Regions from separate parts of the Homo sapiens genome. Here all the other regions are linked to region 3. The links are contacts of gene promoters, found by promoter capture Hi-C in blood cells and fetal thymus (Javierre and others, 2016). All regions are on one chromosome and are shown on one strand. Each heading gives the region's core, a stretch centred on a gene start or on the middle of the fragment in contact. The rest is flanking DNA. Distances are from core to core; before and after follow the strand shown. Region 1 overlaps CECR2 (CECR2 histone acetyl-lysine reader). Region 2 has its middle 14 kb from the start of CECR2. Region 3 holds the start of CECR3 (cat eye syndrome chromosome region, candidate 3).

Region 1 (4,407 bases), core at 521-3,020, 120 kb before region 3:
AGTAACCACCACCAATAAAGGGCACAATGAAAGTGATGTAACTGCTGATACTATGCACCAAGGGCACGGCCCTCTTCAGCACTCCCGCCAAAAACACATGACCCAAGTTATCCTGAGAGGACTTCCAACAAGCCCAAGTGGAGGGACCGTCAATAGAATGAATGGCTTTTAGTCTTCCAAAAAGGTCAAGCTCAAGAAAGACAAACACTGAAAAACGGCTCTATTTTAAAGGAGACTAAAGAGACTCAACAACTAATGGAATGCCTGATCCTAGACTGAAAACCTGAACCAGAAACAATTTCTAAAATAATAATATATTTAAAATTCATAAAAATAATGTACAAATTATATATATTATTGGCTCAATTGGCAACATTTGATATACTATTATCTACAGATCTTACTCAGTATTAAGTTCCTGATTTTAATAATTGTACTTATATGTATAAGAGAATATTCCGGCCAGGCACAGTGGCTCATGCCTGTAATCCCAGCATTTTGGGACGCCGAGGTGGGCGGATCATCTGAGGTCAGGAGTTCAAGACCAGCCTGGCTAACATGGCAAAACCCCGTCTCTACTAAAAACACAAAAATTAGCCGGGCGTTGTGGCGCATGCCTGTAGTCCCAGCTACTTGGGAGGCTGAGGCAGGAGAACTGCTCTAACCCAGGAGGCGGAGGTTGCAGTGAGCCAAGATCGTGCCACTGAACTCCAGCCTGGGCAACAGAGTGAGACTCCATCTCAAAAATAAATAAATAAATAAAAAAGAATATCCCCGAGCTGGGCGTGGCGGCTCATGCTTGTAGTCCTAGCTACTTGGGAGGCTGAGTCAGAAGGATTGCTTGAGCCCAGGAGTTCAAGACCAACCTGGGCAACACAGCGTGAGACCCCACCTCAAAAGAAAAAAACAATGTTTTTAAGTCATAAAAACACTAAAATGTCAAGGAGTGAAAGGTATCACGTCTTCAACTTATTCTCAGTGTAGAAAAACAGTAATTACACAGCTAGAGATGCCTAGCTAGCTAGCCGGACAGGCAGGCAGGCAGTTGGGAGACAGAAGAGAATGGTACCAAAATTCATGTAACTTTTATGATAAAATATAAAACAAAAAGTAACTATGAAGATAGCTTGGTGGGGAGAAAGAGGGAGATGGCAGTAAAGCACATGGTGTAAAACTGAACACGTGGGGAATCTGGGTAGGGAGCTTAGGAATTCTGTGTACCAGCCTTCTAAGTTTCCGTTAAGTCTGACATTACTTAAAAATAAAGTTTTTAAGGCCGGGCGCAGTGGCTCACACCTGTAATCCCAGCACTTTGGGAGGCCAAGGAGGGTGGATCACTTGAATTCAGGGAGTTCGAGACCAGCCTGGCCAACATGGTGAAACCCCGTCTCTACTAAAAATACAAAAGTTATCCGGGCATGGTGGAGTGTGCCTGTAGTTCCAGCTACTCGAGAGGCTGAAGCAGGAGAACTGCTTGAACCCGGAGGCTGAGGCTGCAGTGAGCTGAGATCGTGCCACTGCACTCCAGCCTGGGCGACAGAGTGAGACTCCACCTCAAAAAAAAATACTAAAATAAAATAAACAAAGTTTTTAAAAAACCCAACCCAGAGTTACAGTAGAGTGGAAAAATGATAAAAGGAGCTCTTAACAGTTATTAACATATTTTGTAAGTAATTTAAGCAAGTGAAGAAAAAACTGAATTGCTTTCACTTCTAAAATGTCTCCTGACTCAGTGTTCTCCGTAAATTGCGTAAAAGATTCCTTTCTAATACCACGACACTAGCTAAAATTTAATCTCACCCACCTTCCCATATACTCTCAAGAACCCGCACTGGATGTCAGTTTTCCTGTCTCACTAGCAGTACTGTTCAATTCATTTACCAAAAAATGCCTCCGCATTTTCCTGAAGTCTGCCGGTATGGGTTCTGCCACCCGCTGGGCATGCGGCCTTGGGTAAATCGCTTCACTCTGAGCCTGTTTCCTACAGTGCTGTCATGGTGATGCCTGCCTCATGGGGGAATTAAACAGATGGGTCAGTTCGGGCATGAGAAACACTTGAGACAGTGCATGGCACCAAAATTCATGTAACTTTTATGATAAAATATAAAACAAAAAGTAACTATGAAGAAAACTTGGCCAGGCGCGGTGGCTCATGCCTGTAATCCCAGCACGTTGGGAGGCTGAGGCGGGCGGATCACCTGAGGTCAGGAGTTTGAGACCAGCCTGGCCAACTTGGTGAAACCCGTCTCTACTAAAAATATAAACATCAGCCAGGCATGGTGGAGCGTGCCTGTAGTTCCAGCTACTTGGGAGGCTGAAGCAGGAGAATTACTTGAACCTGGGAGGCAGAGGTTACAGCGAGCCCAGATGGCACCACTGCACTCCAGCCTGGGCGACAGAGACAGACTCCCTCTCGGGACAAAACAAAAAACAAACAAAAAAAAAACTCAAAACTTAAAACCTCAAATATAGAATGTAATACTAACAGAAGTCTAATGATTAAAAACACTAATCCTATCTTAGAAAAAAAAATTGTTCTGGTTCTTGGTTGTCATGATAGTAAACAACTACAGATAACCCAAACGCCCCTTGGCTAAATGAGAGTCCCTCTACCCGATGAGTATTCTGCAGCTACTGGAAATCATGGCGTGCTGTGATTGAAAGGGCATTCTGTTATATAACACTGTCAACAGAATAGAACAGGATTCAGAAGCATATAGAAAAGTACGATCTTGTGTTTACAAGATACTTAACATGTTATGTGCACACAGACAAAAGTGAGGAAGTGTTAGGCTCTTTGAGGGGCAGGGCATGGAAGACTCCCTCAGGTGTGGTGGCTCCTGCTGGACACACGCCAGCAGGCTGGAGCCGGGGCCTTCTCGTTAATTCCTCTATGGCTGGGTCTCTCCCAGGCTTGCTTCCTCATCTGTAAGATTCTGGCTGTGTCGTGGCTGCTCACCATGACCTTTCAGCTTCTTTTCCACGCTAACTCGATAATCCTTGTATTTCCTAGGTTACGCTCCCAAGAATGGAAATTTCATTGGCCCAGTTCATCTTTTCTTGCGAGATGTGTTATAGATTACTGGCCAAGATATAGATTTGCTTGACAAGGGCAAGGAGGGGCAGGTACAGCTGCCAGATAACCTCTGAAAATTTCTGTAGAACCAGTGGAGAAATGAGACAAAAGAAGGCTTTCTGTTGAGCTGTAACTCCCTCTGGCATGGGGAACCTGTTATTAAACATAACACAGAACATAAATACCTGAATAGCTTATTTGTATACAAATTATCATTACAAAAGGATCACAAAGTAACATTTAGTAGTCCTACAAAACATTAAACATGTAACAGAGAGAAACTAAAAACTGAAGTATTCCAAACAATCAACAGTCAAACAAGAATAAATCTAAAATTCTAATGAAAGAAAGGCACATCTCTGACCAGGTACAGTGGCTCACACCTGTAATCCCAGCACTGTAGGAGGCTGAGGCGGGTGGATCACCTGAGTTCAGGAGTTCGAGACCAGCCTGACCAATATGATGAAACCCTGTCTCTACTACAATTACAAAAATTAGCTGGGCGTGGTGGCATGCGCCTGTAATCCCAGCTACTTGGGAGGCTGAGACAGGGCAATGGCTTGAACCCAGGAGGTGGAGGTTGCAGTGAGCTGAGATCCCGCCATTGCACTCGAGCCTGGACAAGAGTGAAACTCCGTCTCAAAAAAAAAAAAAAAGGCACATTTCTGTGGCTGGATTTTCATTTCCATTTTACTCAACAGAAAGCTAAAATACTGAGCAACTGACAGTCCTAGGGTGACATAACCACATCCCAACAATTAGAGAGCGGTGGCACAAAGAAGGGGATTGATTACTGGTATAAAACATGGCGCAGAGTTTGGAAACAGGCTGAGAAAGGGGGCCCTACAACTGACCTCTTCAATACAACACCAAATGAAGGAACTGAGATTAATTTAACTTCTTCTTGTTACAATCGCTATATATTCTTTGTGAAAAAAGTTTTTTTTTAAAACGCCCTTCCTTTCTCACCATGCTCTTAAGCTTCTCTGTTTGACAGGTCTTATCCTCTCTCCTTCCAGCAGAATGAAGTTTTTTTAAGTCTCAGCCTCTCCCTCTCCGGTCAGAGTAACTCAAATCCCTTCTCCGAAGTCATCTTTGACCCCTTCAAATCACCAACTCAAAGGCTCTTTTCCGTTGTCATTTTCCTAATACTTCTCTGCATCATTCAGCAATGCAGACCTTGTCGCTGCGGAGTCTGTCCTGTGACCATGAGTGGTACCACCGTATGAGGGCTCAATGACACCTACCATGGGGCTGCCTGGCCTGCCAGGAGCCCCATTCCTCCGGCTTACATGATGTAGGGTAATCCGCAGTGCTGAAGGCACTGTTAT
Region 2 (4,387 bases), core at 610-3,109, 89 kb before region 3:
TCATTCAACATGGAAATACACATTTGGGTAGAAAATTGAGTCTCTGGTCTCAGGGAGTTTTTAATGCAATTGGTAAAATAGTAAGATTGTCTGTGTAGTATAGACTATAAGTATACTACATAGTGTTAAAGTTATAAAGTGTTAGAAATAATCTAGTCAATTGCTCCTTTTAGAGGAAGGAACTCAAAGAAGAAAATTTTTAGTGTGAGCTAGAATGTTTGGGAAATGCTTCATGAGGAAGACGGGGCTTGAATTGGTGAGAAACACAGTTAGCTATCTTTATCCAGGATATAAAAACTTCAATAAAATTGTAGGCTGAGTGCAGTGCAGTGGCTCACGCCTATAATCCCAGCACTTTGGGAGGCCGAGGCGGGCGGATCACGAGGTCAGGAGTTCGAGACCACCCTGGCCAATATGGTGAAATCCTGTCTCTACTAAAAATACGAAAAGTAGCTGGGTGTGGTGTTGGGTGCCTGTAGTCCCAGCTACTCGGGAGGCTGAGGCAGGAGAATCGTTTGAACCCAAGAGGCAGAGGTTGCAGTGAGCACAGATCACACCATTGCACTCTAGCCTGGGCCACAGGGCGAGACTCCATCTCAAAAATAAATAAATAAATAAATAAAGATTTTATTAAATTCAAAAGCAATTAGTTTAGAAATAATTTTTAAACTTAAAGTGATATTTAGGCTGGGTGCAGTGGCTCACGCCTGTAATCCCAGAACTTTGGGAGGCTGAAGAGGGCAGATTACTTGAGGTCTGAAGTTTGAGACCAGCCTGGTCAATATGGTGAAACCCTGTCTCTACTAAAAATACAAAAATTAGCTGGGCATGGTGGCATGTGCTTGTAATCCCAGCTACGTGGGAGGCTGAGGCAGGAGAATTGCTTGAACCCGGAAGGTGGAGGTTGCAGTGAGCCAAGACTGTGCCACTGCACTCCAGCCTGAGCAACAGAGCGAGACTCCATCTCAGAAAAATAATAAAAATAATGAAGTGATATGTAGTAGAGAAGGCAATATAGTGAAAAGGCAAGAGCAGTCTTGTAGGATTCATTCAAAAGATCTGGCATTCTAGGCTCGCTGTGGTGGCTCATGCCTGTAATCCCAGCACTTTGGGAGACCAAGGTGAAAGGATCACTTGGGGTCAGGAGTTCAAGACCAGCCTGTCCAACATGGCAAAACCCCGTCTCTACTAAAAGTACAAAAAAATTAACTGGGCATGGTGGCACGTGTCTGTAGTCCCAGCTACTCCGGAAGGTGAGGCATGAGAATCATTTGAACCCAGGAGGTGGAGGTTGCAGTGAACCAAGATCATGCCACTGCACTCCTCTAGCCTGATCAACAGAGCGAGAGTCTGTCTCAAAAAACAAACGAAAAATCTGCGGGCCGGGCACAGTGGCTGTCACCTGTAATCTCAACACTTTAGGAGGCCAAGATGGGAGGATCGCTTGAGGCCAGGAGTTTGAGACCAGCCTGGTCAACATAGCGAGACCCCAGCGACCCCATCTCTATCTTTACTTTTTTTATTTTATTTTATTTTATTTTATTTTATTTTATTTTATTTTATTTTGAGATGGAGTCTTGCTCTGTTGCCCAGGCTGGAGTGTAGTGGTGCGATTTTGGCTCACTGCCACCTCCGCCTCCCGTGTTCAAGCGGTTCTCCTGCCTCAGCCTCCCAAGTAGCTGGGATTACAGGCACCTGCCACCACACCCGGCTAATTTTTGTATTTTTAGTAGAGATGGGGTTTCATCATCTTGGCCAGGATTGTCATGAACTCCTGACCTCATGATCCACCCGCCTCGGCCTCCCAAAGTGATGGGATTACAGGCGTGAGCCACCACGCCTGGCCACTTTTTTTATTTTTATTTATTTATTTATTTATTTTTGAGACGGAGTCTCGCTCTGTTGCCCAGGCGGGACTGTGGACTGCAGTGGCGCAATCTCGGCTCACTGCAAGCTCCGCTTCCCAGGTTCACGCCATTCTCCTGCCTCAGCCTCCCGAGTAGCTGGGACTACAGGCGCCCGCCACCGCGCCTGGCTAATTTTTTGTATTTTTAGTAGAGACGGGGTTTCACCTTGTTAGCCAGGATGGTCTCGATCTCCTGACCTCATGATCCACCCGCCTCGGCCTCCCAAAGTGCTGGGATTACAGGCGTGAGCCACCGCGCCCGGCCCTTTTTTTATTTTTTATGTTTATTTTTGGAGACAGAGTTTCACTCTTGTTGCTGGAGAGCAATGCAGTCTCGGCTCACTGCAACCTCTGCCTCCCAGGTTCAATTGATTCTCCTGCCTCAGCCTCCCGAGTAGCTGGAATTACAGGCATGCACCACCACACTAGGCTAATTTTTGTATTATTAGTAGAGACGGGATTTCACCGTCTTGACCAGGCTGGTCTCAAACTCCTGACCTCAGGTGATCCACTCCTTGGCCTCCCAAAGTCCTGAGACTACAGGCATGAGCCACTGCGTCCCGCCTATCTTTTTAATTTTTTTTTGAGATGGAGTCTCACTCTGTCACCCAGGCTGGAGTGCAATGGCATGATTTCCGCTCACTGCATCCTCCGCCTCCCGGGTTCAAGCAATTCTCCTGCCTCAGCCTCCTGAGTAGCTGGGATTATAGGCGCCTACCACACGGCCGGCTAATTCGGCTTATTTTTGTGTTTTTAGTGGAGAATTACTTGAACCCAGGAGGCAGAGGTTGCACTGAGTGGTGCCACTGCACTCTAACCTGGGCTTAGAGAGTGAGACTCCGTCTCAAAAAAAAAAAAAATAAAAAGAGGAACATGGAAATTAACTTCCCTTGCTTTTAACTTAAGATGAGGAGTAAATAATTATATAGCCTAAAGCTACCTGCACCAATTACAGTAAAAACTATTTGTCTTATTTATTACAATACACAAAGTCCTAGTCTGTATAAGCTATACTCATTATTTTACCCCAAAAAGAAAAAATTTGGTCAGGCCCGGTGGCTCACGCCTGTAATCTCAGCACTTTGGGAGGCTGAGGTGGGCAGATCACTTGAGGCCAGGAGTTTGAGACCAGCCTGGCCAACATGGTGAAATCCTGTCTCTACTAAAAATACAAAAAGTAGCCGGCATGGTGGCGTGCACCTGTAATCCCAGCTACTCAGGAGGTTGAAGCAGGAGAATCATTGAACCCAGGAGGCAGAGGTTGCAGTGAGATCACACAACTGCACTCCAATGGGGGTGAGAGAGTGAGACTCTGTCTCACAAAAAATAAAAATAAAAAAAAAGAAGGAAAGAAAAAAATTTTCCTTTTTATGAATACAACTGTGGGATTGACATTGTTTTCCAATTTGATTTCCCCAATCATATTTTTCCCCATATTTTGGGGAATAATAATATGAATAATAATTTTCATATTATTCCCCCATAAATATTTACTAAACAGTTACTATGTTTTAAGCATTGTTGTAAGAGTTGAAGACCTAGAAATTCCTATGAACTTCAAATCTATTATGTGTATACTTTCATTATTTTTAAAGTTAATCAGGTTTCCCTATCACCTTCTATCTTCATTAACGACAACTGAAGCAGAGTCTGTGAGATTCTTGTCTTTGCGTGGCTGAAAAACTAAAAGGTTTTTGGACATTTAGTAGGAAGAGACCTGTTGGTGAAAAAGGAAAAGGATGGGGGGCACCCTGTGACAACTGTGGTTATTCTTGCATAGAGATGGATATGATTATGCTGTTAGGTTTAATCATGCTAAAAAACATGGCATTCCTGGTAAATCGCAGTCAGTCCAGAAGACAGCTTCTGACGTGCCCTCCTAAACCACAGAAACATTAGCTAATGTGTGATGACCTCTAAAAACATTCTGGCTGCGCTGGGCGCGGTGGCTCACGCCTGTAATCCCAGCACTTTGGGAGGCCGAGGTGGGCAGATCACGAGGTCAGGAGATCGGGACCATCCTGGCTAACACGGTGAAACCCCATCTCTACTAAAAATACAAAAATTTAGCCGGGTGTGGTGGCAGACGCCTGTAATCCCAGCTACTCGGGAGGCTGAGGCAGGAGAATGGCATGAACCCGGGAGGCAGAGCTGGCAGTGAGCCGAGATCGCGCCACTGCACTCTAGCCTGGGTGACAGAGCGAGACTCCATCTCAAAAAAAAAAAAAAATTCTGGCTGCACACACCAACATGGAACACGTATACATATGTAACAAACCTGCACGTTGTGCGCTTGTACCCTGGAACTTAAAAGTATAATTAAAAAAATCAAAAAACAAAACAAAACGACAACAACAACAAAAATATTCTGGCTGCAGTGGCTCATGTCTATAATCTCAGCACTTTGGGAGGCCGAGGCAGGAGGATTGATTGAGCCCAGGGTTTCAAGAACAGCCTGAGCAAAATAGTGAGACCCTGTCT
Region 3 (5,003 bases), core at 1,933-4,432:
GAATGCGTGAACCCGCAGCCCAGCCCTGGCAAAACTTTAGTTGTCTGATGAGATAAACACCTGCCCACACCCAAGACTCCAGGCCCTCTGCTGCAAGCCTGGGTGGGTAGAAGTGGCAGGGGCGGGGGGGAGCAGAAGGGAGAGAGAGGCACAAGTGACTATCTGTCACTGCATAGCCTCACTGGGCTCTGCAGCCGGAGAACACACGAGGGACATAAGGGGTGCTGCCGAGGAGGGTGAATGTCACCTCTCCGCCCCACCCACTCAGCATGGGAGTGACACTCTGAAAACCCCTGTCAGGCCAACAGGCATTTTCAGCTTTCCCCAGTTACCCTGGAGGAGGGTTCACCAAACTGCCACCTGGGTGTGTGATTTGGCTGAAGAGCTCTGCCAGGTCCTTCCCACCCACTAAATAAGGGGAAACAATGGTAGGGAGCAGATGTTTGCCCCCAAGCTCCTCAGGGTGGAGGCAGCTTCTCCTTCTTCTGCCTCTGTGTGGGAGTCAACTGAGGAAGATGGAGCCTCCCGGTGGGTGGAAAGGAGGTGTAGAGTGAATGGGGAGGGGAGATGCTCTAAAAGCGTGCCCCAGATGGTGTTGAGAGGAAAATCCCTGGGTTAGAGCTCAACATCCTGGCTCTGTTTCAGTGGCTGTCCCCCCACCTTCACCTTTCCTAGTTATACATCACAGCATCTTTGTCTGTAGAATTCTGGGGGTGGGAGGTGTGACCCTGAGGGCCCCACATCTTCCTCGGTGCACAGTCCCCCAGCACCCACCTCCCCAGAACCCCCACCTGCACCTGCACTGCCTGGCCTTCCTTCCTTAGCAAGACAGAATTCCTGACAGCCCCAGGGGTTAGGAACAGCTGCATGTGAAGCCCACAGCGGCCTTTCTGAAGCTTTACCCAAGTTCTGCTCCCTGGAGCCACATGGAAGGAAGTTCTGCCTGACAGCCTTTCCAGCACCCTGGGAAGCTGCCGATTTATTTTCTTTACCCCTGACTTCACTTATCTAGGATCCCAACAGAGACTGACAAAGCCAGAGACCCTGATGGTTTAGGATTCCAAGGTTTCTTATGCCTCTAGCTGCTCAGCCAGGAGCTTTCTTGATTTTGTGTTTTTCAAATGAGAAGCATCTTACCAGCTAAGTAAGTCTAAGAGTGTCATGACTCATGGACCTTGGAAACCAATGGTCAGTAGTTTGGGATTCTTTGGGTGGATCAAGAGATTTTCTTGGGGACCTAGGAGCACCTCGATGTGTGGAGGGCCTGAGCAGATGGACTAGTGCCCTCCTCTGGATGGAATTGGAGGTTCCCCTTACGCCCCAATCCCTCCACCCCTGCCCTGGGGCTTTTTTTTTTTTTTCTTTTTTTGCTTGGTGGAATGGGAGAGTACTTTTCAAAGTTACAGTTACATAGAAAAGTTAAAATCACAGCACTATTGCATATCTGAGTGCCAAGAATTACGTTTGTCTTGCTGCAGGTGAGGGAAATGAGGTCACTTCTCAAGAAGTTTGCATTTTCTGAGAAAATGTGGACACAATGGAAAAGCCAAGGCATAAAACCATACACCTGAGAAGGCTGAAGCAAATTGCTCCAGGACTTACAGCACAGTGGGTACGTGTTCCGCAGGTGAGAGGCAGCCTCTGCAGAGGCTGACAAGTCCTTTTTGGATGACACTGTGACTCAGCCCTCATATTCCCCTCTCCAGGGCGATGATCCACCTGGTGCTGTGGCTGCTGAGATTCTAGTCATCCTACTCGCTCTAGGCTGGTGTGATTCTTTTGTTTGTTTGTTTGTTTGAGATAAGTCTCGCTCTGACGCCCAGGCTGGAATGCAATGGTTTGATCTCAGCTCACTGCAGCCTCTGCCTTCCGGGTCCAAGCGATTCTTGTGCCTCAGGCTCCTGAGTACTGGGACTATAGGCGCCCAACAACACAACTGGCTAATTTTTGAATTTTTAGTAGAGACGGGTTTCACCATATTGGCCAGGCTGGTTTCGAACTCCTGACCTCAAGTGATCCGCCCACCTCGGCCTCCCCAAGTCCTGGGACTACAGACCTGAGCCACTGCGCCTGGCCTAGACTGGTGTCATTCTGACATTTCCAGGCCACGAAGCAGTCCCAGACTCAGCAGCCCTGGGCATCTGCCGTAGCCCTGTTGTATGATCTGCTCTGCCACTCATGAGGCATGACTCACCCTCCTACCCTCTCCGAGCCTCAGTTTACTCATTTAAATCTCAAAGCCTCCACAGATAATTGGGAAATGAAAGGAAAATCGTGTAAGTATGAATACCTTCCACAGATAGCGGGATCTCATTAATACTAGTTTTCCCCTTTCCATACCTCCCAGCAAAGAAAAGTTGGTAACTGCAGGCCTCTGAACTAGTGCCCCACATCGGAGATACCGGCCACTTCTTACTGAACATTTGCCTGTGTCTACTATAAGGATATAAGATCATCTCAACCTCCCAAGAAGCCGATATTAGCACCCCCATTTTTGCAGCTAAAGAAACTTAGGTGCAGAAAAATGAAATAGCATATTCAAGGTCACAGAATGACCTGGGGCAGAGCTACAGTCTAGACCCCCATCTGTCTGATATAAACCCCATTCTATGAACCCTCAACATTGCTACTCCCCTTCCAACGCCACTGGAGCAGAAAGCTCCAAAACTGGGTGAAGCACATACAGCTCTATAGCAGGCAACCCCATTCCTGTGTTCCACCTAGTGAAGAACCAGGAGGTTGTGCATGACCAAGGTGGTTCAGGGTGAAGGTCAGGGGCTGGCTGAAAATGGAAGGCATCTCAGGCTGGGTCTTTGACTGTGATTATGTCAGGGTTGGGGCTGAAATATTGTGAGTGGTAACTGAGGTTTCAACCTCTTCCCTAGGAAAGAGTGGGGGTGGGGTGGTGAAGCTGGTTAATTGAGATGGGAGGGTTGGGGTGGGGGCAGGCAGAGCCTTCCAAGGCCTTCAGATCCGGTGCTGTTACCGTAAACAAGTGCAACCCTCAGCTCCCTGGAGGGCCTGGGGAGCAAATGCGTGCATCCCTGCTTCGTTCCCAGCAGCTGTTCACTGGAGGACGCAGCCTGCCATCCCCAGCCGACCTCCTCCACAGCCTTCCCCAGCCCCCAGATCAAGCCTCAGGAAGTGGCGCTGCTGAGAATCTCTCCTCCAGCCCTGCCTCCTGCCGAGAGTGTCTTCAGCGCCAGCATTTCCTGGCCTAATTAAGCTGGGTAATGAGTAGCTAAGAGGAGGGGATAAAAGCCCTAGGCGGCTTAGAGCTGGGACAGTTTATGACAGGGGCGTCTGCAGCTGGTGACATTCCTAGGAAAATTATTTCTCATAACCCTGGGAAGTTGCATGCTGTTTCCTTAGCAGCAGAGTAAGCCTCAAAGGTGAGCATGGGGAACACTGCATCTTAAGGGGGCCTGACTGGAGGGTCCTAAAGGTGACAGGTGGGGGGTGCCATGTGTCTGTAGGACTGATCAGAGCTGCAGAGCAGCTACAGGCCACCCGGGCTAATGCCCTTAGCTTAGTCCGAGGCCGGGGCATCCGTGGTGGCCACGTGACTCCCCAGGGCTTGGGTTTTGTGTTTCTTCTGAATGATAGGACTCTGCACAGCATGCAGTTTCTAAGACCGTATCCTTTCAGGGAAGGAAATCTGAGCTAGAGGCTCTGATCCTGACTCCTCCGCAGCCCACTATTAAGGGTGTGAAAATTGTGTTTTGGAAAATATCAGGTGCCCCAGCAGCCAGGAGTGGGTAGAAGAGCTCTCAGACAGGGGCCCTGGGGGAAAGGGGAAGGTGGGCACCAGGCGCTCTGGACACCAGGGCCCGCCCTTCCAGAGACACTCAGGAGCCCAGCGTTGATTATCCCCACTCCCACTCTGCAGCCACAGCCTCAGCCCCCAAATTCTCCTTCTTTGGCACTCAGTTTTGTTTGTTTGTTTTTTGTGTCAGTTCTGTTTGTTTTTGTTTTCTTCAGTCACCTTGCACTCCTTCCTTAGTTGGCCAGGGAACTTCGTGCTGTATGGGGTGGAGCAGGGCAAGGCCCAGGCTCTGGAGCTCGGCCCATCCCCACGTCTCTGAGTGAACTTGGGAGATCAGGTGACCTCTCAGCCATGGTTTTCCCATTTGTAGAATGAAGGCATTAGTGATGTCTAGTGTCCAGTATGTTATGAACCGCAACCTCCACTTGGCCTGTGAGTGGCGAGCGAGGCTGAAATTGGGCCATGTTTCCCAGACCTTTCAAATTAGGTTACCCAGTTTCACCCAAGAACATTTTTGCCCCAATTATCCTGTAAAGCAGAGTCATAGCTAGTGAGTATGTATTTTATTATTATTATTACTGTTATTATTAGAAACAGGGTCTCATTCTGTCATCCAGGCTGGAATGCCATGGTGTGAACATGGTTCGACCTCCCGGGCCCAAGCAATCCTCCCACCTCAGCCACCCGAATGGCTGGGACCACAGACACGTCACCACACCCAGCTAATTTTTGGTATTTTTTGTAGAGACTGGGTTTCACCATGCTGCCCAGGCTGGTCTCAAACTCTTGGGCCCAAGCGATCCTCCTGCCTTTGCCTCCCAAAGTGCTGGGATTACAAGCGTGAGTCACTTCGCCTGGCTGAATACCTGTTTTTGATGATGGAAGGGCCCATTCTCCTGCACTCTTGTAATCAATATTTGTTCTTTTCCAATTTTCTAAACAAGACCTGTCTGGTGCAATGTCCTCCGAGCCCCGCTTCCTCCACGGCTGGAGCCGGGAGCGGCAGGGAATGTGTGGGCATTCCGTCTTTCCTTCTGATCGCCGCCCTTCACCCTCTGCCCTTGGCTGTTCCCACAGTCCCATCTATTCCCCTGGCCTCCTGCTTGTCTCTCTAAACGAGGAGTGAGTATGCAGATCACAAATAACCTGGTGTTTCCGTTTTTCCCTCTGGCGGTGGTTGCCCCTGGAGTGGAAGGAGACCTGGTGGCCAGATGCCTGACATGGCCGGGACAGCTGG

What was found. Contacts are between HindIII fragments. The CHiCAGO score rates a contact against its expected background, and 5 or more counts as called.
Region 1: a contact is called between a fragment that was not itself captured here and the fragment with the promoter of CECR3 in region 3, in 3 of 17 cell types (M2 macrophages, activated CD4 T cells and M1 macrophages). The highest score is 7.9, in M2 macrophages.
Region 2: a contact is called between a fragment that was not itself captured here and the fragment with the promoter of CECR3 in region 3, in 4 of 17 cell types (M1 macrophages, M2 macrophages, M0 macrophages and 1 more). The highest score is 8.5, in M1 macrophages.

Annotation. Positions count from the first base shown.
Region 1 is chr22:17,385,981-17,390,387 of GRCh38, reverse strand. The region is part of intron 1 of CECR2 (CECR2 histone acetyl-lysine reader); the gene reads right to left. Among named protein-coding and RNA genes, the nearest start is that of CECR2, 19 kb to the right of the region's middle. The HindIII fragment of the contact is 4,579 bases long and covers 1-4,059 here.
Region 2 is chr22:17,353,198-17,357,584 of GRCh38, reverse strand. No RefSeq gene overlaps it. Among named protein-coding and RNA genes, the nearest start is that of CECR2, 14 kb to the left of the region's middle. The HindIII fragment of the contact is 5,867 bases long and covers 1-4,387 here.
Region 3 is chr22:17,264,912-17,269,914 of GRCh38, reverse strand. CECR3 (cat eye syndrome chromosome region, candidate 3) reads left to right here and starts at 3,182. Exons shown (of 3, transcript NR_038398.2): 1 at 3,182-3,392. RefSeq lists enhancers at 1-412, 4,733-5,003. The HindIII fragment of the contact is 21,393 bases long and covers 899-5,003 here.